Linked DNA regions of Homo sapiens: regions 1, 2, 3, 4 and 6 are each linked to region 5. Evidence: promoter capture Hi-C in 16 types of primary human blood cells and fetal thymus (Javierre and others, 2016). All regions are on one chromosome and are shown on one strand. Each heading gives the region's core, a stretch centred on a gene start or on the middle of the fragment in contact. The rest is flanking DNA. Distances are from core to core; before and after follow the strand shown.

The links. Contacts are between HindIII fragments. The CHiCAGO score rates a contact against its expected background, and 5 or more counts as called.
Region 1: a contact is called between a fragment that was not itself captured here and the fragment with the promoter of KCTD3 in region 5, in 1 of 17 cell types (M2 macrophages). The highest score is 5.4, in M2 macrophages.
Region 2: a fragment that was not itself captured here is called in contact with the fragment with the promoter of KCTD3 in region 5 in 1 of 17 cell types (M2 macrophages); the score reaches 5.2 in M2 macrophages.
Region 3: a contact is called between a fragment that was not itself captured here and the fragment with the promoter of KCTD3 in region 5, in 1 of 17 cell types (M2 macrophages). The highest score is 7.0, in M2 macrophages.
Region 4: a fragment that was not itself captured here is called in contact with the fragment with the promoter of KCTD3 in region 5 in 1 of 17 cell types (M0 macrophages); the score reaches 5.4 in M0 macrophages.
Region 6: a fragment that was not itself captured here is called in contact with the fragment with the promoter of KCTD3 in region 5 in 2 of 17 cell types (M2 macrophages and M1 macrophages); the score reaches 6.1 in M2 macrophages.

What each region holds. Positions count from the first base shown.
Region 1 is chr1:214,209,487-214,213,238 of GRCh38, reverse strand. No RefSeq gene overlaps it. Among named protein-coding and RNA genes, the nearest start is that of SMYD2, 70 kb to the left of the region's middle. The HindIII fragment of the contact is 6,664 bases long and covers 1-3,752 here.
Region 2 is chr1:214,271,849-214,275,360 of GRCh38, reverse strand. The region is part of intron 1 of LOC124904509 (a long non-coding RNA gene); the gene reads left to right. Among named protein-coding and RNA genes, the nearest start is that of SMYD2, 7.6 kb to the left of the region's middle. The HindIII fragment of the contact is 3,639 bases long and covers 1-3,358 here.
Region 3 is chr1:214,292,657-214,295,918 of GRCh38, reverse strand. All of the region lies in intron 1 of SMYD2 (SET and MYND domain containing 2), which reads right to left. Among named protein-coding and RNA genes, the nearest start is that of SMYD2, 13 kb to the right of the region's middle. The HindIII fragment of the contact is 2,030 bases long and covers 533-2,562 here.
Region 4 is chr1:214,308,619-214,312,368 of GRCh38, reverse strand. The region is part of intron 2 of SMYD2 (SET and MYND domain containing 2); the gene reads right to left. Among named protein-coding and RNA genes, the nearest start is that of SMYD2, 29 kb to the right of the region's middle. The HindIII fragment of the contact is 1,835 bases long and covers 1,001-2,835 here.
Region 5 is chr1:215,566,007-215,569,690 of GRCh38, reverse strand. KCTD3 (potassium channel tetramerization domain containing 3) reads right to left here and starts at 2,387. Exons shown (of 18, transcript NM_016121.5): 1 at 1,923-2,387. The coding sequence starts at 2,005. It overlaps LOC124904599 (a long non-coding RNA gene), which reads left to right and starts at 2,334. Exons shown (of 2, transcript XR_922599.2): 1 at 2,334-2,411; 2 at 2,557-3,264. RefSeq lists an enhancer at 1,313-2,173 and a silencer at 1,986-2,255. The HindIII fragment of the contact is 6,743 bases long and covers 1-3,363 here.
Region 6 is chr1:214,326,893-214,330,355 of GRCh38, reverse strand. SMYD2 (SET and MYND domain containing 2) reads right to left here. Exons shown (of 12, transcript NM_020197.3): 7 at 2,632-2,734; 8 at 78-188. Among named protein-coding and RNA genes, the nearest start is that of SMYD2, 47 kb to the right of the region's middle. RefSeq lists an enhancer at 1,200-1,289 and a silencer at 1,216-1,510. The HindIII fragment of the contact is 1,021 bases long and covers 1,336-2,356 here.

The sequences.
Region 1 (3,752 bases), core at 682-3,181, 1.4 Mb after region 5:
AATCCTGAGTCAGGTACAGCAGATATGAATTGTGCACACTGAATAGATGAGGAATTGTGAGACTTGCCCCAGATGAGATGGAATGGGGCTAGAATTCAAGGCTGGGGAGAGTCTGTGACATGCCAAGAATGTGCATGAAAGAGAATCAAGGGAGCAACATAGAGGAAAAGGCTCATCCCCAGCCCGTATGCAATGGAGCTACACACTGAAGAATAATTTTGGTGGGGCTAGGAGGAAGGGTTTCGTGTCTGAAGCTGATCTTCTGGCTGTCATGCCTCATCCAAGTCCCACGGAACTGCATTTTCATAGTCCAGTGCCAACTTCCACATTTCCACTGTCTCATCAATGATTGTCAGTCTCATGACTAATGCTTTGGGACTAGATGTCAAAATATTTATTTCTCAAAATCACTTATGATTGTCAAGGGGCCACAGAACCCCTTCAGAATATCCCTGTTACTTATGATTAGGTACAAAGATCCTAGCTTTACTGGGAGTCAGGGACCATGAAGATGTCTCTATTCTATTATTCTCTATTACATTTTCATCCTTTGCTTCCACAGACGAAGGCCAAGTGAGTCTCTCCTGATGATGTTCAACCTTCATTCAACAAGTTGAATAATTACAACAAGCCATAATTACTGTTGTACATGTGTACAACAAGTGCCTATGGAGCACCTGCTAGGGGCCATGTTATGCTGGGTGCACAGGGAAGATGTGGTCCTTGTCCTCTTGCTTACAACCAGGAGGAAAGCCAATTGCACATATGAGCCATTGATATCAGTCAGCCTGGAGAGTTTGATTTTAACTGGATAACTCAATCTAAACATTTTTTTTTAAGTAGAACTCTTTGGGTGATTTCAGACATACAGAGGCTGACTGGCCAAGGAATCTATTCCTCTTTCTAATATTAGAAAGGAATATATTCTTAGGAATCTATTCTTCTATCTAATATTTATTGTCTTTAGGCTCACTTTTGCATTCTTTCGTAAAAGGTGGCCAAGTATCAAGAAAAGGCAACCCTTTCCCACACCTGCAGCTACTAGCTGGTCATCACCCCAAAGAGAAGGCCTCTAGCTGAGAATAAAAGTGGTACATCTTTACAGTCTAACAGATACCCTTCCCTTGTGTCAGAAACCATATCTCAGATTTGTAGGGAGGTGAGACTACATAGCTAGGAGATATTATGGATCCTAGTGAAACATTCTAACCCCAGTAGTAGGGGTAGCACATGACAGTGTTAGGACCTGATGAGACATTATTGTCCCTCTGGAACCTGGGGCTGCTGGAGAAATTGGCCTGTATCCCCCAAGGACACCTTAGCTGTGGAGGTTACATGGGGTTCTCAGCCCAGCCAACAGACACTGTACATGTCAGCAGTGGTGTGATGCCAGCTCTTGGGTGTGGCAGATGGGACAAAGAAAGTGGAGGGTTTTCTCCTCTGTCCAGCTCTCTTAAGTAACTAAACTTTGGCCCCCAATTCCCCGACCCCCACTGCTGATTTTCTGTAGCCCATCCAAGCAAATGAGATCAGAGAACCAAACCAGACCAGAAATGTGATATCTTTTTCCTCCCTATTCCTCATCTACCAGAGCTCTATGATTTTCACCAGTCTAGCCAGGAGAGAGAGCTCTGAATGAAGAGTAACTGAGACAATAATATTCAAGTATCCTAGACCATGCTAAATCTCTAGAGCTGGGTAATGTAAGTGTTTGGCTTTCAGCAGAGCAAAGTGGAAAAATGTGAGGCAGACAGAAGGTGTTTGAATCTCCCACTGTTAGCTTGGTAGCCACAGGCAAGTCATTCACCTTTGCATTTGTTTCCTCATTCGAAAAATGGAAATGCTAATATATCCCTTTCAGATCCATTATAAGGATTAAAAATGTATAAAGCATGGAGCATAATACAGCATCTATTATTATTGTGAAGAATATGTTGTCTTGCCCTCAAGAGACTTGTAGTGTAGTTTGGAGAACTAAGACCATCACAATAACAATCACAAGAATGTGGTCTGTAACAAACAAATGCCTGCGCAAGTCAGATAGAAATTGAAAGTAGGGAGAAAATTATCCCACCAATTCCACTACACCTGCTCAGTTTTGTCCAAATACATTTATTAAACATTTACCATGTAGCAGGCTATATTGTCATAGTTGTGTAATTTACAGGTTCAGGAGTAGTGCAATTTACAGGTTCAGAAAGACCTGGCTTTGAATCCTGTCTCTACCATTTACCAGAGGTATGACTTTGGCCATTACTTAAACTCTCTGGCTTTGGCCATTACTTAAACTCTGAGTTTATTACCGAGTGTCCTCATCTGTAGGATAGGGTTGTTAATAGTACCTGGCTCACAGGTTGCTGTGAGTAATAAATGAATTAATGTATATAATATATATTATATATATATACTGTAAGTAGTAAATATATAAGTATATAAGTATATATAATACTGAGTTATAAATGAATTAATATATGTAAAGGAAACAGCAAAGTCCCTGACACATTGTAAGTGCTCAATGAACAGTTGCTGCTATCATCATCGTCATCATCATTATCATCATCACCACCACCACCACCAGCACCACCAGTCCCTATGCTTAATGTCAGGGATTTTAAAAATGAATGATACATTTTCTGCCTTCAAGCACTTCACAGTTCAGTAGGTCCTCGTATTCCATTGAATCCCAGAAGCCTTTGGTAAGTGATCCAGGTGAACATAACCTATTTTTCTAGAACAGAAACAAATTTTGCTTAGGAAATTTGCAATATTTTGACCTAGAGCAGGGCATTGGCTTTTACCCAACGACGTCTGCTTTGGGAATGTGCTTCCCTAGAGCTCCCTGTGAAACTGAGATAGAGATTTGAGTCTTTCCTAGGCCTATTGGTTTTTACAAGAGTGAAATTTATCCTGTTCAGTCCTCATAATTATGCAAGTGAACAGACTTATTTATAGATCAGGAGTCTCAACTTACTGTATCCTTTTATATATATATATATATATTTATGCATAGCTGTGGCTTATATATTCCAGGGTATTCTAGAGTTCCCCAAAAATATGATTGAGCTGCAATTGTACTACATAAGATTAGGAAAGATTGTACTACATTTAATTAGGAAAGTAGCATTTTAGAATTAAAATGCATAAAAGTCATAAAGTGTGCTGCAGAAAAAGGATTTCCTAGTATCTGAACTCAGAATTGAGGATTTCACTCCTGGTTTATGGGGTTAGAGTGGTAGAATCACGAGAGCTTATTAAAGTCATTTAATCTAAGAATATTGAATGGTTACGTGTAACTCTGCTCAGAGGTGGGGGCTAGACCAATTGGTTTTAAAGTTTTTTTTGCTTTGCAGTGTTTAGCTCAGCTGATGGAAAGATGAAAAGAACACAGAACAGTTAAGTGGGAACTCCCACCAATCACAGGCTACATGGAATTCTCATAAGTTTTTCAAAGCTGTCCCCAAACTATCTATAACAAGTTAGCACCACTAAGGAGAAGGACATCTGTGTATTTTTAGACAGAAAAGTGCTGTCTCCTTGTCACTTTGTAGAAAACCCTTTTCTCTCTGCTTCCTCTCATTGGGCCTTCTGATATCTCAGAAGGGAAAGGAGCTACCTGGTAAATAAAGATAAGCTGTGCTTATTAGCAGAGATTTGCAAGGAAAGTGGCTGTTTAAAAAGGGATAAGGAGGTCATTGTGTTCCTCTGGCTCTAAAGCAGGGACTCATTTTCCCCAGCCAGGGCAGAGCAGCCAC
Region 2 (3,512 bases), core at 290-2,789, 1.3 Mb after region 5:
GGACACACCATCTTTAAGAACTGTAACACTCATGGCGAGGGTCTGCAGCTTCATTCTTGAAGTCAGCGAGACCAAGAACCCACCGGAAGGAATAAATTCCAGACACAGAATCACAGAAGTGACATGTATGAACAAGCTGTCTAGCAGTGAGTCCAGGCTCAGAACCACTCCACCATGCTGCCTCTCTGTTCAGCCAGAGCTACAGCTTTCCTTAGAGTACTTGGGATGAAGGTGGATGGGCAGGAGTGGGCCCCATCATGAAACCCATGAGCCTAGGAGCTAGACGGCACTGTGTAGGCACGTGAGTCAGAAGAATTTTGGCTGACATGATCCGAGTTTTGCTGTAGAAAGTTCATTTTTTAGCTAAATAGAGAATACACTAGAAGGGGCTGAGGAGACAGAGGGAACTGAGGCGCCTGATGCAATAAAGGGTCCAGAGGAGAGATGTTACTGGAATGAACAAGGGCAGTGACGGTGGCAATGGGAAGGAGGGACATGGATTTGAAGAACTTTTAATTAACAGGACACGGTAATTGGGGCGAGTGAAGAGAAAGGAGAGGGAATATGAACCATAAAAAATATGTCCAAGGACAACTGACATCATCACCTCCATCCAGTCCTTCCAGTTCATTCCCCCCCGCCCCCCACTTGAGCCTTGTGTTTATTCCCCAAACAAGATTTTGTTATTTCTTCATTCGCCATATCTCTTGTCTAATCTTTTATTTCCATTCTTAATGCCACTCAGCCCTTAAGTCTTTATGTCCGGTTTTGTGCAGTAGACTCTCAACAGCAGAGTGAGTTCAAATTTTGAGATATTAGCCTGGGATCATACATTCCAACTCTGTGTTTCCTCTTACCCCTTACCGTTAACTTCCCACTTAGTCAGTGGCATTGACTTAGAGAAGAAATGATATTGCAGAATAGGAGCAAAAAGTCCCCTGAATTTAGATTCAAAAGCCTAGGGTTTTGGATTGCAAAAGCCTAAGGACTTGGGGGACTCAGGGCTCCAGTCCTAGCAAATTCAGGATGATGCAGGAGCCACAACTCCCTCTGCCAGAAAAGATTCTCCAGACCTGTGATAAAGGAGAATTGGAAGGAAAGCCAGAGAGAAGTTGAGGGTATTTCTCTGAGAAAGAGGCATGTGCCATAGTTTCCTTCCAGACTGAACCTTGGATGAGTGAGACAACATAACTAAACCCAACCCCGCCCATGGGTTTGAGGGGATTCAGAACAAGGCTGACCTATGTCCTAGTTTTACATTGACCCCCAGACTCCCTGTGTAATAGAAATTCAGTGTGTGGGAGAAATGACTGAAATACTTCATGGGAAATAGGAGAGTGATTTCCCATGCACCCAAGAGGAGCACTAGAGTAGACAAGTTAGCCATCTGCTGTGATCTGAAATGTTTGTGCCACTCCCGCTCACCCCCTTTTCCCCACCAAATTCATATGTTGAAATCCTAACCTCCAACATGGTGATATTAAGAATCGGGGCCTTTGGGAGATGATTAGACTGTGAGGGCATGGGCCTCATGAATGGGATTAGGGCCCTTATAAAAACGGCCAAGGTGGCCGGGTGCGGTGGCTCACGCCTGTAATCCCAGCACTTTGGGAGGCCGAGACGGGTGGATCACGAGGTCAGGAGTTCAAGACCAGACTGGCCAACATGGTGAAACCCTGTCTCTACTAAAAATACAAAAATTAGCTGGGCGTGGTGGCAGGTGCTTGTAATTCCAGCTATTCAGGAGGCTGAGGCAGGAGAATTACTTGAAGCTGGGAGGCGGAGGTTGCAGTGAGCTGAGATCCCGCCACTGCATTCCAGCCTGCGTGACAGAGCAAGACTCTATCTCAAAAAAAGTAAATAAAATAAAAATTAAAATGGCCAAGGGAGCTTGTTTGGCCTCTCACATTGTGAGGCAGAAAGACAGTATGTATTAGGAATAGGCCCTCACCAGACACTGAATCTGCTGGTGCCTTGATCTCTCTTCCCCAAACTGTGAGAAATAGCTGTGGCATTTTGTTACAGCAACCAGAACAGACCAAGACACCATCCAAGAGCACCATTGTGATGACCCAGAGATCTGTGTGGATTGATGATCAAGGACCAGGTGTTCCAACCCCAGCCAAGCACTCACTGCCTTAGCATCACTGTGCCAGCCAAGTGCAAGAAGCAACCCCAGGAAACTGACCAAGATGACATCTCTACCACCCAGGGAAAATGAACACTCATAATGAAAATTATCACAGTTTCTTAAATACACAAGTTTACAGATGAGCGTCATCATTCAGGTCTCCCTATTCTATATGCCTTTGTTACTGCTGTCAAACACATAGTCTTAAAATAACTACATTAATAGTGACATTTCGTTGAAAAACTCCCAGTTGCCCTTTATTAGATGCCTCATCAAGGCCAAGCTCTCTTTTTGGCTTTGAAAACCCAAACCTTAGCTGTCGTACACATCTTGAGTTCTATCTATGTTGTGAAGCCTTCTCCAAACATTTCTTCCATAACAGTCCCTACTTCCTAAAGTAAGTCTTATCTGTACCTTGTTGGCTTATGATCATCAACCATAAACACACACACACACACACACACACACACACACACACTTTTGTGTAGTCCCATGTAAGTTAAAAGGTCTTCAAAGGGAAATACTGTATATTGTATTTATTTCATAGTCTTCTTAGTGGAGAGCTTGATACTTGCTATGTGTTAAATTTGGAAATATTTTCTGAGTGATTGAGGTACTGAAATTGCTGATCAGGCTTTGATGGGAGGTGACACTGGATTTTAACAAGTATGTTACACGGGGCATGTTTTTGAACTTGTACCTAGACTTTATGACACCATATCCAAAGAATGAATACATAATTCTAGGTAGTGAATCTATGAAGTGTTTAAAGAGATCAGTAGCTTTATTCATCAGAATCTATTCTGAAGTAGTTAAAAAACAATTATGTTAGTAGAAGTGATGAGAGTTTCCTAATCATGGAATTAGTGTTGTCTTCGGGTGCCTATGGATCCAGATGGCCAAAAGGCACCCACGTAATGCTCTGCCATCTCACTGGCAAGCAAAAGTTGTGGACTTGAACAGAAAAAAACCTTTGCTTCCAGGCTGAAGTGCAGCATAGCAAAATTCCCCTAACGCATAATTTACAGTCCTCACACCAGCATCTTAACTGCATTGCAGCATTTTTACTAGAGGCAGTTACCCCAGAAGAAGAAACTCTTATCAGTGGGAGGAGTAAGAAAGCCAGAGAAATCATGCTTAAATTAACTATTTGAAGGTCAGATTTGATGAATTCTTAAACTACCAGCCATGCCTTGTATTTGAGGGGGGTTGGTGGGGAGAAAAGCTTAAGCTGACTTTGTATTCATGATTCTGGTAATGTAATAGCTCTGACCAGTTACTAAAAATTCAATAAAAAGGCAAAAAAGAGCCCAGAAAATACTACATTATAACATGTTTGGTCCTGAACTAGACATGAAAGCTTTTAAAATGTTTATCTCTG
Region 3 (3,262 bases), core at 298-2,797, 1.3 Mb after region 5:
AATCAGAAACAAAGTTAGCCTCCCACCCAGCGAGGGTGGTTATACTAGCAAGGCCTCCAATCTTGTTTAAGAGAAATAAAAATTGGAGGAATTGTGGCAGAACCCTATTATAACCCTGGTCAGGGGACAAGGATAATACTCAGGCTACAGGTTTTTCTGTAATACTGAAAGGTGCTCCATACATCACTTTAATCCACAATGTAACAGTGAACGGGACCCACGTGCAGCGGGGGGCTTCTTCCCAGGGCTGTGCTGAACCTTCGCTCAGCACCAGGCTTTGTTCTGAGGCTTGTTAAAAGTTAGAGCCCGCATCCTCTTGGGGAGGCAGGAAATATTTAGGGCAGTAAGGTAGCAACTAATAGGTTTTCCCAACTATTGGAACCGGAGCTGTAATTTACAAGGAGGAAGCTGGGCTTGGTGGTCAGAGTAATGGCTGACCTAGTTATAAAATAACACAGATTTGTTTTCATGCAGGCTCTGGCCCAGACAAAATTTACCTTTGCCTTAGAAAGCAAAAAAAATTCATGAAGCTTATGAATATAGGAGAGAAATATTTAGCCTGTGAAACAGTGAACATTACATTTCCTTTTCAGCCCCTGGACAACACCTATATCCGAAGCTCCTCTTGTAGGCCCTGCACAATCTCTAACAGTTAAAGCTCGTCCAAAGAATGAATGTACACACTTTTAAAATCTCATGTTTTCCTCTGGAAATGCTCTGTCTTAACTTTTGTGCAAGGTCAGAGTAACACTTCCTTGCTACTTTTATCTTTACTTCTCTAATGCCCTCTGATTGAAAAGTCAAAAGCAAAGAAACAACGAATGCCTTTCTAACTCAGTTCTCTCATAAAGGAACTGACAATAAAATAATATCCACCGCTTCTTCCAGTTAAATGACAGATGTTACTATTAGTACTTTGTAATGAATACCAATATTATTAGATTCCCCTATGCTTGCTGTTGCATAAAACTCACGTGATTAAAAATCAAAGAAAATGACAAAACCAAAGTAATATAAATTTAACTACTTGAAAACTTAAAATACTCCTAACAGTATTCCTCACTTCAACGTTCTGTCCGTAAAACAGAAATAAACCATGGTAAAAATTCCTTTATAGTCTAATGCTAATTGTGAGTTCCCAGAACATGGTCAGGTCTGCTGCAGCAAAACATGTGTTAACTACCTGTCCAGACAGAACTGTTCTGAATCTTACTTACAGGAAAATGTGTGTTTTTTGTTTGTTTGTTTGAGAGAGGGTCTTGCTCTGTCACCTAGGCTGGAGTGCGGTGGCACAATCTTGGATCACTACAACCTCTGCCTCCCGGGTTCAAGAGATTCTCCTGCCTCAGCCTCCAAGCAGCTGGGATTAATTACAGACATGAACCACCACGCCCAGCTAATTTTTGTATTTTTAGTAGAGACGGGGTTTCACCATGTTGGCCAGGCTGGGCTTGAACTCCTGTCCTCAAGCCATCCGCCCGTCTTGGCCTCCCAAAGTGTTGGGAATATAGGCGTAAGCCACCGCGCCTGGCCTGGAAAATGTTATCTTTTTAATTGCCTACAGAAGAATTTTAAGAGTTGAGATTCTCTCATCCCCTCAGTTTTATTTTCCTGCAAACAAAATATAAAAAATTGAATTACCAATTTGTTTAGGCGAATTACCCCGAATTGTGGACTTTACCTTGAAAACTTAAACTGATCGGATACCGTTTGAACAGATTTAGCAGACATTTTTCTTTCAATCCTTATTGATTCCATTTGTATTTCTCTGAACGGAGAACATTTTTAATACTGTAAAACCTTGCACATGAGGCAGTAAGAAGACATGTTAATCTATCATAGCTAAGTAATTTCTATTCAAAAGTGTTATTTGCTAGGTACAAAAGTACTGTGCTACAGCCATACTGGGAAATAATATTTTTGTTAAAAAAAAAAAAATGAGTGGCTGGGCACGGTGGCTCATGCCTGTAATCCCAGCACTTTGGGAGGCCGAGGCAGGCGGATCACCTAAGGTCAGGAGTTCAAAACCAGCCAGACCAACATGGAGAAACCCCGTCACTAGTAAAAATACAAAATTAACTGGGCGTGGTGGCGGGTGCCTGTAATCCTAGCTACTCGGGAGGCGGAGGCAGGAGAAATGCTTGAACCTGGGAGGCGGAGGTTGCAGTGAGCCGAGATCGCGCCATTGCACTCCAGCCTGGGCAACAAGAGCAAAACTCCATCTCAAAAAAAGAGTTATTTGGGGAAATCTGCCCTGCCTACATGAGAGTGGTAAATATAAATATCAGGCAAAATGATTCAGCATCCAAATGGCCCACACGACCTGGAACTGAGAGCAGAAAGCTACCCCTAGGACTGAGCTCTTTGAAGATACAGAAGTTAGGGAAATAGCACTTACTGAGCATGTTGTCTTATTCATCTCTGAAACTCCACAGTGAGAGCACAATGCTTGGAATAGTAGGATGTTCAAAAAATGTAAATATTAAATTATTGTAAAATAAATACAAACAAGTCGATAAATAAAATGAAAGCTGTGTGGGCTGAAGTAGTTAAGAAAAAGCTTTGGACCGGGTGCGGTGGCTCATGCCTATCATCCCAGCACTTTGAGAGGCCAAGGTGGGTAGATCACCTGAGGTCGGGAGTTCGAGACCAGCCTGGCCAACATGGTGAAACCCCATCTCTATGAAAAAATATAAAAATTAGCCAGACGTGGTGGCAAGCGACTGTAATCCCAGCTACTCAGGAGACTGAAGCGGGAGAATCGCTTGGACCTGGGAGGCGGAGGTTGCAATGAGCAGAGATCGTGCTATTGCACTCCAGCCTGGGTGACAGAGAGAGACTCTGTCTCAAACACACACACACACACACACACACACACACACACACACACACACACACACACACACAAACAGAAAAAGATAAAGCTTTGGAAAGAGATGCAATTTGAGCTGGATCTTTCTTGAGTATAAACAAACTGAAGGCTCTAAGGCCTTACCTAGGAAGGAGGCAGAGGATAAGGAAGGAAATATTACAGAGAAAAGTACTCTAGATGACAAATAGACAATAGGAAGAATGAAGAATGACATTCTTCAGCTTTGCAAAGACCACCCAAATTGAACTTGGAGTCTAAGTCAAAATGCAGTGAGGGATAATGCTGGATACGATGGGAGGGGCACTTAGTAGGGAACTTGTCCTGAAGAAAGCAGGGAGTCAATGAAGAGTTCTGAGAGTATTTACAAGGATTCATTTCCAAGAATGAACA
Region 4 (3,750 bases), core at 669-3,168, 1.3 Mb after region 5:
AACCCCAGAACTGACAACAGTGCCTGGCATTTAGTAGGCACTCAATATAGTTGTTGAAGGAATGAAGATATCTCCCTACCCGCTTCCCTCCACACTGATCCCCCAAGAAGGAAGCACATAATGTCACTTAATGATTTAATGCAGTCTATGGTGCAGCCCCTTAGCTCAAGTTCTGGGCCAAGATGTTCTGCAGAGTTAAATAATGCCGCGCCAAATATAACTAAGAGCAGGGAGGAAAAGAAATGACAAGATATGCACAAGGGAGAAGAGAATCTGTTTTTAGCCAAAGCCTAAAATGAGAGCATGGTGATGAGGCGAAGAGGTGGGAACAGGTGGGTCTGTCTCCCTGCAGACTAATCAGCTCCCTCCTCAGCTGCAGAGCAAAGAGGAAAAGACAGAGATGACCCTCGGGATACCTGAGAGGATATGGGGACCTACCAGCTGGGGACAGATGGATCATTAACAACTATAGACAAATGCCCACTCTGACTCCAGCAACTCCAAGAAAACTCCAAGACATAATCTCTGTCCCTAACGGGCCTGCAAGCTGTTGTTTTCTGAACTGCAGGTGGTGCCTTGGTGTTTAGCAACTACAATGAATTCCTGGGAAGTTAAATATGAACATTTATTAATATAATTATTATTTATAAAATATCAATTTATTAATGTAGTTGATTTAAAATTAATGGTACTGTAAATACTACATAATGGTGACATTTATTGATATAAATGTCCTCAAAAGGAAGGGAATCAAACACAAGGAAAGCTCTGGGAGGAAAGCAGAGTGCTGTCAAGCAGGAGGGCTGCTGACCTGGGACTCAAGAAACCTGCATTTTATCCCCACTCGCAGCGAAGCAGCTGTGTGACAACGCAGGTTTCTTAATCCCTTTGCGCCTGTCTCCCTGGCTGTAAATAACATGATCCCTAAGTTACTTAGCAAGTCCAGAATTCTGAGTCTGTGAGTTTACACCTTCCAACAGTGATAATCAGATATCAAGCTTGAAGACTACCAACAAAAGTGGACCAAATAGGGATCATCAGGCATTCATCAGGCACAAAGGATCCCATCAGCAGATCCACAAGAAGCACTCAGAACGGTGCCCGGCACAGGCTGCGCTCTGAAACATTGGTAATTGCTCATTCATTCATTCATTCATTCAACAAGTGCTGCAACTGACCCTAGAGGCAGGGATGGGAGATGAAGTCTTTGACTTCAAGCAGTTTATGGCAATGTCAGAACCAAGATAAAAGTACACCTACAATTAAATACAGTCCCGCTCATAGCAGTTAAAATCAGGTAGCTGGATAAATTCAAGAAAATGCAGAATCAGGTTAAATTTCATCAAAGGAAATTTACCACAGTAATAACGTTTCACTTTCTTTTTTGAAGGTGGATTAACGGAGGAAGGGCAGAGATATAACACAATGGCACTGCACAGCTTTAATTCTTAAAAAAGGAAGATGTGATAGTATCTAGTAAAAATGTCAGGTTTTAAGCATATTTTGATACATTCTCTTCTATCATAGAGATGGTCCATATATTTTAAAGAACCTGACAGCGGCAACTACCCTAGTTTTGCCCATAAGAAATTACAAGCAACCAGACTGGACAAAATTGAAAAACAAATTAGGCTAACCTGATGAATAGGAATGAATGTTATAAATTACCGTATTTTTGAATACTGGCAGTACTGCTGTATACAGAGTGATTTTGCAACTCTTTATGCTTTTTTAAATGTTATCAATTTTTCTAAAACTTTTCCCACTATTCTTCAAAATTCGAGTTAGTGCTCCTGCCCTGACTGCAATACTTATAAAATTTTCTGTAAACTAGGATCTCATTTTCCAAAAAAAAAAAAAAAAAATTAATAAAATACACATATAAGCACAGAAGGGATTCAGGAAGATATATACCAAAGTATTCTCTCAAGGAACAAGATTATGAATACTTGTTCTGTTCTTTTAGTCTGCACTTTCTGATTTTCCCATAATGAGGACAGACTGTGTAACTTAAATCCATAAAAAAGGTGAGATATGGAATTTTTCATACTGATGGTCCTCTTTTAAAACTTCTAATTCATTTTCAACTAAGATAATAACTACTGTGCATGACTTTCACTTTCGTGCACAGTCAAAAATGCTTAAAGATGCATAAAGAGTTGCGAAATTGTCTCATGGTGCACCAGCATTTCCAGCACTGGAAGAAAAGAGTGATTATTATGGCATCCAGTTTTCTGCTGAGCAAATATGTTGCCTTCCTCGATAAGGAGACTGGATTTTCATCATGAAGTCCCTTTTCTGCCTCTAGCATTTGGTGTTTCTATTCTTCTAACAACAAACACAGCCTACCTGTACACATCCACATCTTATTTCTTAAAATGTGGAACAGGGAGAAAATGTCACAGGATTTCTGCTTTCCACTAGCATGATCCTTGAGAAGAAGTGTGCAAAAGCAATCAGGTGGACACCTGACCACCTTATACAAAGATGGCCCGTGCTGCTGAGCTACCATCACTAGGACATATGCTTTGTGTTTTCCCAATACAAGCAATGAGACATACTCAGTCATTCACACACATTTCTTCCTACTGGTGATGTTAAAGATTTAGAAAAAAAGAGTGGCCCAAATTTAAGATGCTTCCTATGGCTGACAGGAGTGAACTGAACCAGGATTGAACCTACGACTCTGGCCCCATTACACTAATCACCCATAACAGCAGCATTTATTAGACATGTTCTATACTTCAGTTATTTTCTAGTCAATGATAAGGGCCTACTATTTTCTCACATGCTCCTCATACACACTTTAAAAAATCCCTTCCTACTTTCAAAGCTTACTCATAACCCCCTCAGCAGCAAAACACAAAGGTTTTCTTCTTTACATTCATTAGAGTTAAGAAATATACCCTAGAAAGTCCTACTGCACAATGATTATTCTATATAACAACTTTCTAAAACTCTTCTCTTGAAAATATCCTGGTACAATTTATGGGTGAGTGGGTGAATGAGTAATATACTTTGCTTCCCAGGCGTATTTAGAAAAATAAATACAGTTCATTAAAACACACAGGTTACAAAATAACGCACCCAACTAAAAAGGAATTTCTGTTTCTTTTGTATTTCCTCCCATTACCCTTTCATGCATTAGCAATTAAAATCTTTCCTCTGGCACCATCACACTGAGTCAAGTGAACTAAGAGGAAAGTAACGGGACAAGATAGAACCAAATTGTATCAAATAAAGCAAAATCCGAAAGCACTGCAGACAGAAGAGGGCTTGGGGAGAACATACACCATGGCTAGGATCCCCTAAGAAGCCTTACTCCATGTAAAGAGGAAATCCCCAGGAAGCAATGTGAGCCTTTAGCACTCTTGGAGAGGTGTCTGGCCAAGGCAACAATGGACGCAGCTCTCCCCTTTCACATCCACTGAAGGCCACTTCTCTTTCTCTGACATTCCCACAGAACCTCCTTTCCTAGAGGGCCCTCACTTCTCCCAAGCACACTACTGTAAAGGGGTGAAAGCCCTCCCCAAGTAGTGTGTAAAGTCTCATCTCTGTTCTGCCACTGTTTGACCTTGGGTGATCTTGGGTCACCCAACCACTTGGGACTACGTTTTCTTATCTACTGACATATTGAACTCGATAACCTCCATCCCAACTCCACCATCTGCTGTGTGGCACTGACCACCTGATGACTCCAGGGGGGTAGGGCCTACCTTTGAGGAAGGACCAGTTAATTACTAGCAGCTG
Region 5 (3,684 bases), core at 1,138-3,637:
CTGGGAGGCGGAGCTTGCAGTGAGCCGAGATCGCACCACTGCACTCCAGCCTGGATGACAGAGCGAGACTCTGTCTCAAAAAAAAAAAAAAAAAAAAGTTACAGTGCCAAGATAACTGCCTTATGAGTTAAAACTTTTAAATGAATTCTGCAGTCTCTAATAAGAGTTCACTCAGTATTAAGCCATCCACATAGTAAATAACAATACTGCTTAATTTTTACAATAATACTGTATGTCCTTGTGAATGTCTGAATAGAAATATATTAACTATCGGCCAGGCGCGGTGGCTCACGCCTGTAATTCCAGCACTTTGGGAAGCCGAGGCGGGAGCATCACGAGGTCAGGAGATCAAGACCATCCTGGTCAACGTAGTTAAACCTCGTCTCTACTAAAAATGCAAAAATTACCCGGGCGTGGTGGCGCGCGCCTGTGACCCAGCTACTCGGGATGCTGAGGCAGGAGAATCGCTTGAAACTGGGAGGCAGAGGCTGCAGTGAGCCGAGATCGCGCCACTGCACTCCAGCCAGGCGACAGAGCAAGACTCCGTCTCAAAAAAAAAAAAAAAGAAAATTAAAGAAAAGAAATACATTAACTATCAATAGCAAGTAGAAACCAGTGTAGGGATTGTAAATGATTATACTGCTACTCTTCAGTATAATCAACACACATTGCAGGCCTCCTCTTTAGGGGTATTCCACAAGTTACCAAACTTCCAATATTTTAACGTGATTTTAGGAAAAACTCCATTTCTTACATTAGGAGACATAAATCTCCATAAGACTGGTTTCTATACAACTGCAATAACGTTGTAAATTATCTAAGTTTTGATTTGGGGGAAGAGGAAAAACCCTAAGAACGAAGTACCATGGTTTTCTGTGTTAAATTCTAGAAAGCTATCAAATGTTTAGGATTAAAGCACTACAGTAGACATTTTTTATCACTATGGTTCTAAGACATTAAAATACTTTTAAAATGCTGGTTGAAAATCATATTCTCAAGCACAGAAAAATTAACTGTATTCCAGAGCATTTCCTTGTTTATCTCCTTACCAAGCCTAAAACTCAACTAATCCTTCTTTCAAACAGCTGGCAAACTCCCTTTTCTGAGAGGAGTGACTCATAAGTTATAGGAAATCCACAAAAACTACGATTTTTTCCCCCAACAAACTTAATAACAGGCACAGAAGGGGCGGGGGGGGGGGGGGGCGGAAGGCCAGAAAGAGAACAGACAGAGAAGAGCATTCAGTCTGTTTACTCCAAGGGCGTCACACCGTGCCAATATCCAGAGCTTCCTAAAAGCAAATGTTCAAACTGCAGTTTCTGGACACACTGTCCTAGAAGTTGAACAGATCCTTCAAGCCCATGCACCAAGAAATTCTGAAAATAAATAACTAGGTACTGCAAACCTACTGCACTCCCATCACAGAAATCTTTCAAATTACAAATCCCCTAATTAGGCGCGGAAAAGAACACCGCACTCTTCCCTAAGAAAACCGACACCTCGTTGACCAAAGAGAAAGGAAAGCAAGTTCATCTCCAACATCCAAACCACAAAGCCAGGTTTCTACTAAATAAAGTCCTCAAATACACTCTAATCTGAGATGAGGTAAGGAAGGCTGTGTAATGGTTCTCCTTGCCTGTTGGGAGGGGCAAAGGTTGGCATTCTAGGACAGCAGCTACTCTGCCACATGGGCCTGGTCCTCGGTAATTCCAAGCGTCCCTTCTGCCTCTCCCTTCCCAGAGCAGATGCTTCACCAGCTCCAAAATCCGCCCGACGTTCTTGCCGCCTGGAGGCCCCCACGTTCCCCTCCAGGCTTGGCCTCCCACGCTCGCCCTCGTTCCTGCGACTCTCGGTCCCCGTCGACACCAAAGGAGGAGGCCGCCAAGGCATCCCCGCTGCAAGCCCGCTACCCGCCGACTCACCTGGTCCCCCCTACGTTCAGTTGGACGATCTCGCCGCTGCCGGCCGCCGCCGCGGGGAAGCTGCCGCAGTGCCCTCCCGCCATCTCCGGCGGCTCCGGACGCGCTCGCCGCCCTCCTTCCCCAGCCGGGACCGCCGAGCCCGGGGCTGTAGCCCGAGGCAGCGGCGACGGCTGCAGGGCCAGCGGGGCGGCGGCGGCCGGAGGGCGGGGGGTGCACGGGGCTTCCCCCACCTTCCCGGCGGCCGGGCGGGGCTCGCTAGCTTCTGCCCCTTCCCGGGTCAATCCTGCGGTGCACAAGGGCGGCCCGGCCTCCACCTTTCGCGGCCTCCAGGCCGCCGGGCCGCCCGGGCCTCTTCTCCGTGCTCCGCTGCCACCGACGCCGCCGCAGCCTGCCTGGGAGGAGGGGTCACCGTTCGGGACAAAATACCGCAGCGCTCACGCTTCGCCCGCCACTGCCGCCTAGAATGAGGAGGAGGAGGAGGAAGGAAAGGTCAGGGAGGAGCTTCCCAACGCCGCGGGGCTGGCGCGTAGGGAGGCTAGGGGAATGTGCTCCTGGCCAGCCGCCTGCCCACGCGGGATTCCATTTCGTTCCTCCTCCCCACGCGATCCCAGCCCCTTTCCCTTTTACATTTCAGATTTTCTAAAACGAGGAAGCTGATTCGCAGATTGAGGGCAGATCTGGGCAAACGATCTACGGATCTTTATGACCCACTTTGTCAACATGGATTGGGAAAGGAAAAACTAATCCTAGAGGTAGTAAAAGTTGATGCCTAAATGTAGACAGTGCAAATGCAGGGAACATTTGGAGATTTTAAAACCTTACAGCGTTTACCCCAGAAAACTGCTTACTTTACCCTCTTCAATTTAATCCCCAATCTCCCAAGCAGTTTTTTTGTTTTGTTTTTTGCTTTTGTTTGTTAAGCAGGAAGGAAACCAAAGGACAAAAACCCCTAGACTGTGTAATGCCCAGCAACCTATTTCTGGAATATAGTAAGCACTCAACTAATGTTAGACACACGCAGAAAACACACAATTTTATGCGCTTGTTTATTTATTTGTTTTTGCTTTAAACGGTATCTATTCAAACCCAAAACCTTAGTGGCTATTAAAATATTTTTTAAATCGGAATACTATAATACTTGATGCCCTGCTAACAAAGACTAACAAAGATAGTGCGTTATGTTTCAGAGGTCATTAGTTTGTGGTACTAAATTCTTAACATGAATTGTTTTGTCATAGTTGTATCATAATAATTCAAACTGATAATGTATCTGATGTTAAGTTTTTATTGTCATTGTCATAATTTTTACCAAAAAAATAAAAAATAGCCTCTGGCAAGCATACTAATGTTGTGATATGCTCTATCTAGATTCGACTTGAAAGATGTTAATAGTACATATGGATGTAAGATAAGTATTATTTCTCCCAGTTGATGATAAGCTTAATAATAGCTAATTTGTGTTTATCATATACCCGGTGGTTTAGATATTTTGTCATCTTTCTTCGTCACAACTAATGTTATAATTATTTTTAAAAAAGGAAATTTGGGAATGAAAATGATCAAAAAAACTTGCTCAAAATTACATAGGTAGCAAGTGGGATGGCAGGAATTTCAAGGCAAGCAGCTTGAATTCAAGGCCACTGTTCACCATCCTTACCACTGCATTGTACCTCATTATCTTCACTTTAGACAGGGAAGATGAGTAACAGTTCAGATTAAAGCAGCAGCAACTAGGAATCTAAACCAGGGTGTCCAATCTTTT
Region 6 (3,463 bases), core at 597-3,096, 1.2 Mb after region 5:
AAGTCAGACAAGCTCTTCAGCAGAGAGGTCCTGAGATCAGAGTGCAGTCAGCGCTCTTGCCCAATGAACAACCTTACCTTGTCCTTGGTGGTACACTCCTGGCACTCACAGGTAAAGAAATAAGAATCTCTTAACCGGTCATTTCTATCTTCCGTTGGGTACAGGAGATCAATATAGCTGGTAAAAACCTACGGGGTCCAAAAAGATAAAGCTTCAGTCTGCTACAGGTAAACTCAATCCTTGTCATTCCCGTGCCTTTGCAGTCACCTGCAGGGCCCATGCAGAGGATAAGGCGGGCTGCAGCGGAGGAATGCGCTGTTTACTTTAAGGCACGGAATTCCTGAACTGAGCAGCCACCTGACGTTGGCTTTCTCTGGAAGGTGTTCACTAATCCACAGCTGAACTGGGAGCTGAAGCCAAGGTGCAGGTTAGTGGAAAGAGTCTGTAGAATCAAGGAGTCCTTAAAACAGTGTCCTGGAGGGTTCAGAGGATCCCTGCCTCCCTCAGCTGCCTCTGCCTGGCCTTCATGTAGTTTCATGTTTCACCACCTGAGACGGCGCAAATGCTTCGTTGCCGTCATCACTGGATGCTGCGTGCAGGGGAGGGCATGAGCACGCACACACCACACACATGCAGCTAAGCTCCCCTTCTCCTCACATCAACTGGCAATGGAGCAAGAGGCTCCACTCAGTGGGCTGGGACCCACAGCTCTGGGTGGCCAGCGGAGGGTGAACACATCTTCTAGGACACCAGAATGCTGCGGCCTGGCCCAGCGGGCAGCTCCTGATCCTGCAGGGCAGCGAGCTTGGAAAGTCCTTACCTTTGGTTCATGGGGCTCCACCGTCCTTGCCTTTTCCTAATGGGGTCTGTAACTAAGGCTTGGAGCATATGGAGGAGACCAGCATTTAGATGTCCATTATCTACTCACTGGGACAGCACTGGCTACTCATCCCACACAATCAGGCAAATGTCTGACTGAACAGATGGATCTCATGAAGCCGCTAGCGTGCCAGTGACCACGGGCACCACCAGGCAGGCAGGGGAGGACACGCACAGGGCTGGGTGCTGCAGGGGCAGCTAAGCTCTCCCCAGCCCATGGGGAGGTACTGGACACGTTGCAGCTCACCCCGAAACCCTGGGGAATGGGGTTTCTCCTTCTCTGAAGGGTAAGTAATCCCCAAAGCACTGACTTCCCAAAAATGAGGTTACTGCGTTTCAGATCTGGGAGAACATAAGGGCAAAAGGAAACTGCAGCCACCCCTGCCCTGCCTCACACCACAAGAGCCTGCCAACAATCTCTGTAATGACTGACTCACAGTGCAACATGCGGAAGCTTCCAGAAGATGGCGACAAAGGCCACTCCAGTACCACTGCTCCCAGCCAGACTGAGCCAGCTTAGGTGACAACCTGCTCATCTCTGCAGTCAGCCCACAGGTGCACTGGAGCCTGGGTGACTGCATTCTGACTGGCTGCAATTATCTGTTTCAAGAAAGGCTTCAGAGCAGTCTCCATAAGACCTTTGGAAACTCAGACACCCCAGCCGAAAGGGGACACACCCTCATCGTAATGGATTTAGCTGAAGGTAGAAGGGCCAACCTGCCTGCATCTTGGGCTTCAGCTCCCAGTGCAGCTGTGGATTAGTGAGTGCCTTCCAGAGAAAGCAAAGCACTTGTCATTCAGCACGCTGACAGTTATATTTTACACTTCACACTTCAAATACCCAGGCATGCACCGTAAAATAGCATTACAAATTGCTAAACTGAAATTAACCCAAGTGTGATTACAAGTTCCTAAAAACTCATGTGTCTTGCTGGGAATTTACTTAAGAACACAGAGCATACTACAGCAATCCATCAGGCCAGCCCTTCCCAGGTGAGACGTCTCATGAGGTAGTCAGGAATCACACATGGGAAGGGAACAGGGAATCGCTGAGCAGGTGATGGGAAGACTGGTTCTCTCCACGTCCTGAAGCTGAGGAGGGAAACTAAGGTGCCCCTTGGCCACAGACTGCCTTGACTTCTCCTATTACTGCATATACCTGGACTTTTGATTTAGATTCCTAAAAAGTGAACTGCGACCTGAAGTTCAGATGTGGAACTGATAGAACACGAAATTCTGATGTGTCCCTTGGAGTGCCAGCTCTTTAGCTACTGCTGCGTTGCTTGCTTTCTTTTGCTTTGGACCTTTGAGGGATGGTGGGGAACAAGCAAGAATTCACCAAAAAAAATAAAATAAAATAAGGCTCAAGCTCAGTTGTTTGGCAATAGGGATACAGAGACTCTAAAGATAATCAAAAGTTTGACTGTGGTCATTTTGGTAGTAAATGTCTTCTTTCTCTGTAAATCTCTATAAAGCTTTGGGACAAATTTGACTCAAATTTATTACTTCCTGTTTTTCTTGACCAGAGATGGAAATGTATGTACCAAACAGAAGCCCCAAAGTGTGGGAATCTAAACTACAGGTTACAAATCTGATCACTGACTCCTGGAGAGCCTGAGGGCAGACTCAGCTAAACTGCTGGAGGCATTCACAACTCATACTGTCAAGTGACACTGCACAGATCTGTCCACATTGCCTTTTAAAGAGCAGTCTCAAGCCCCCTGCTGCAGCCACCCATAGCCATGAACTCACCTCCTCTCCCGGCTTGATTTCCTGTACAGCTCTGACTTCTGCCAGGGTCCCTTTGTAGGTCACAATGACATTGGGGCAACAGCTATGATTCATCAATGCAACACTGTCAGTCAGAAGAGAAAACCCAGTTTTTAAAATGAGATAGGCAGACTGTTTAGCTTCCTTCACTACTTACTTGCTAAGTCAGAGGAACTGAATCTTTGCAAGACATTTTTTAAAAATCTAATAGTTGGCTATCACATTCTAAGAGGTTGTTCTGCATGCACTGATAATCCTATCTACCATCTCACACTTTCACCATATTAAAAACTGAAATCCACAATTCAAGTACTATCTAAGCCAAAACCAAAAAACACACAACAGCAAAAACAACAAATGCCACAAATATTCCTCCCTGATAGAATGCAGCTCTCAGAACCCAATACCCACAGCTAATTGCTACTTCACTATACACTGTCAAACACAGGTGCGTTGTCGCTTTCAAGCAGCTTTTTGTATTAGTGGATTATTTCTCACGTTTTTTTCAGATGTTGAGAAATGCCAGCTTCCTAAGGGAGGAAGGGTGTGTGATCCCCTGAGAGACCCGGAGACACCCGTCTGAGTTTCTCTGCACCTCAATTTCCTCATCTGGAAAATTGGGACATTACTGCTCCTGCTGCTCACTGTCTGCTTTTCAGGGACAGCGAGAAGGAGAGAGAGAGATTCGCCTATGCGAGGTGCTTTGAGCTTTCTGATTATATGAAGGTCAAAGTTCTGAGAACAGAAATTTCTAAACTACAGGGAAAAAGTGCTTGATCTCTGAAAATGCTGCCTTTGAAATCACAATGCTGAT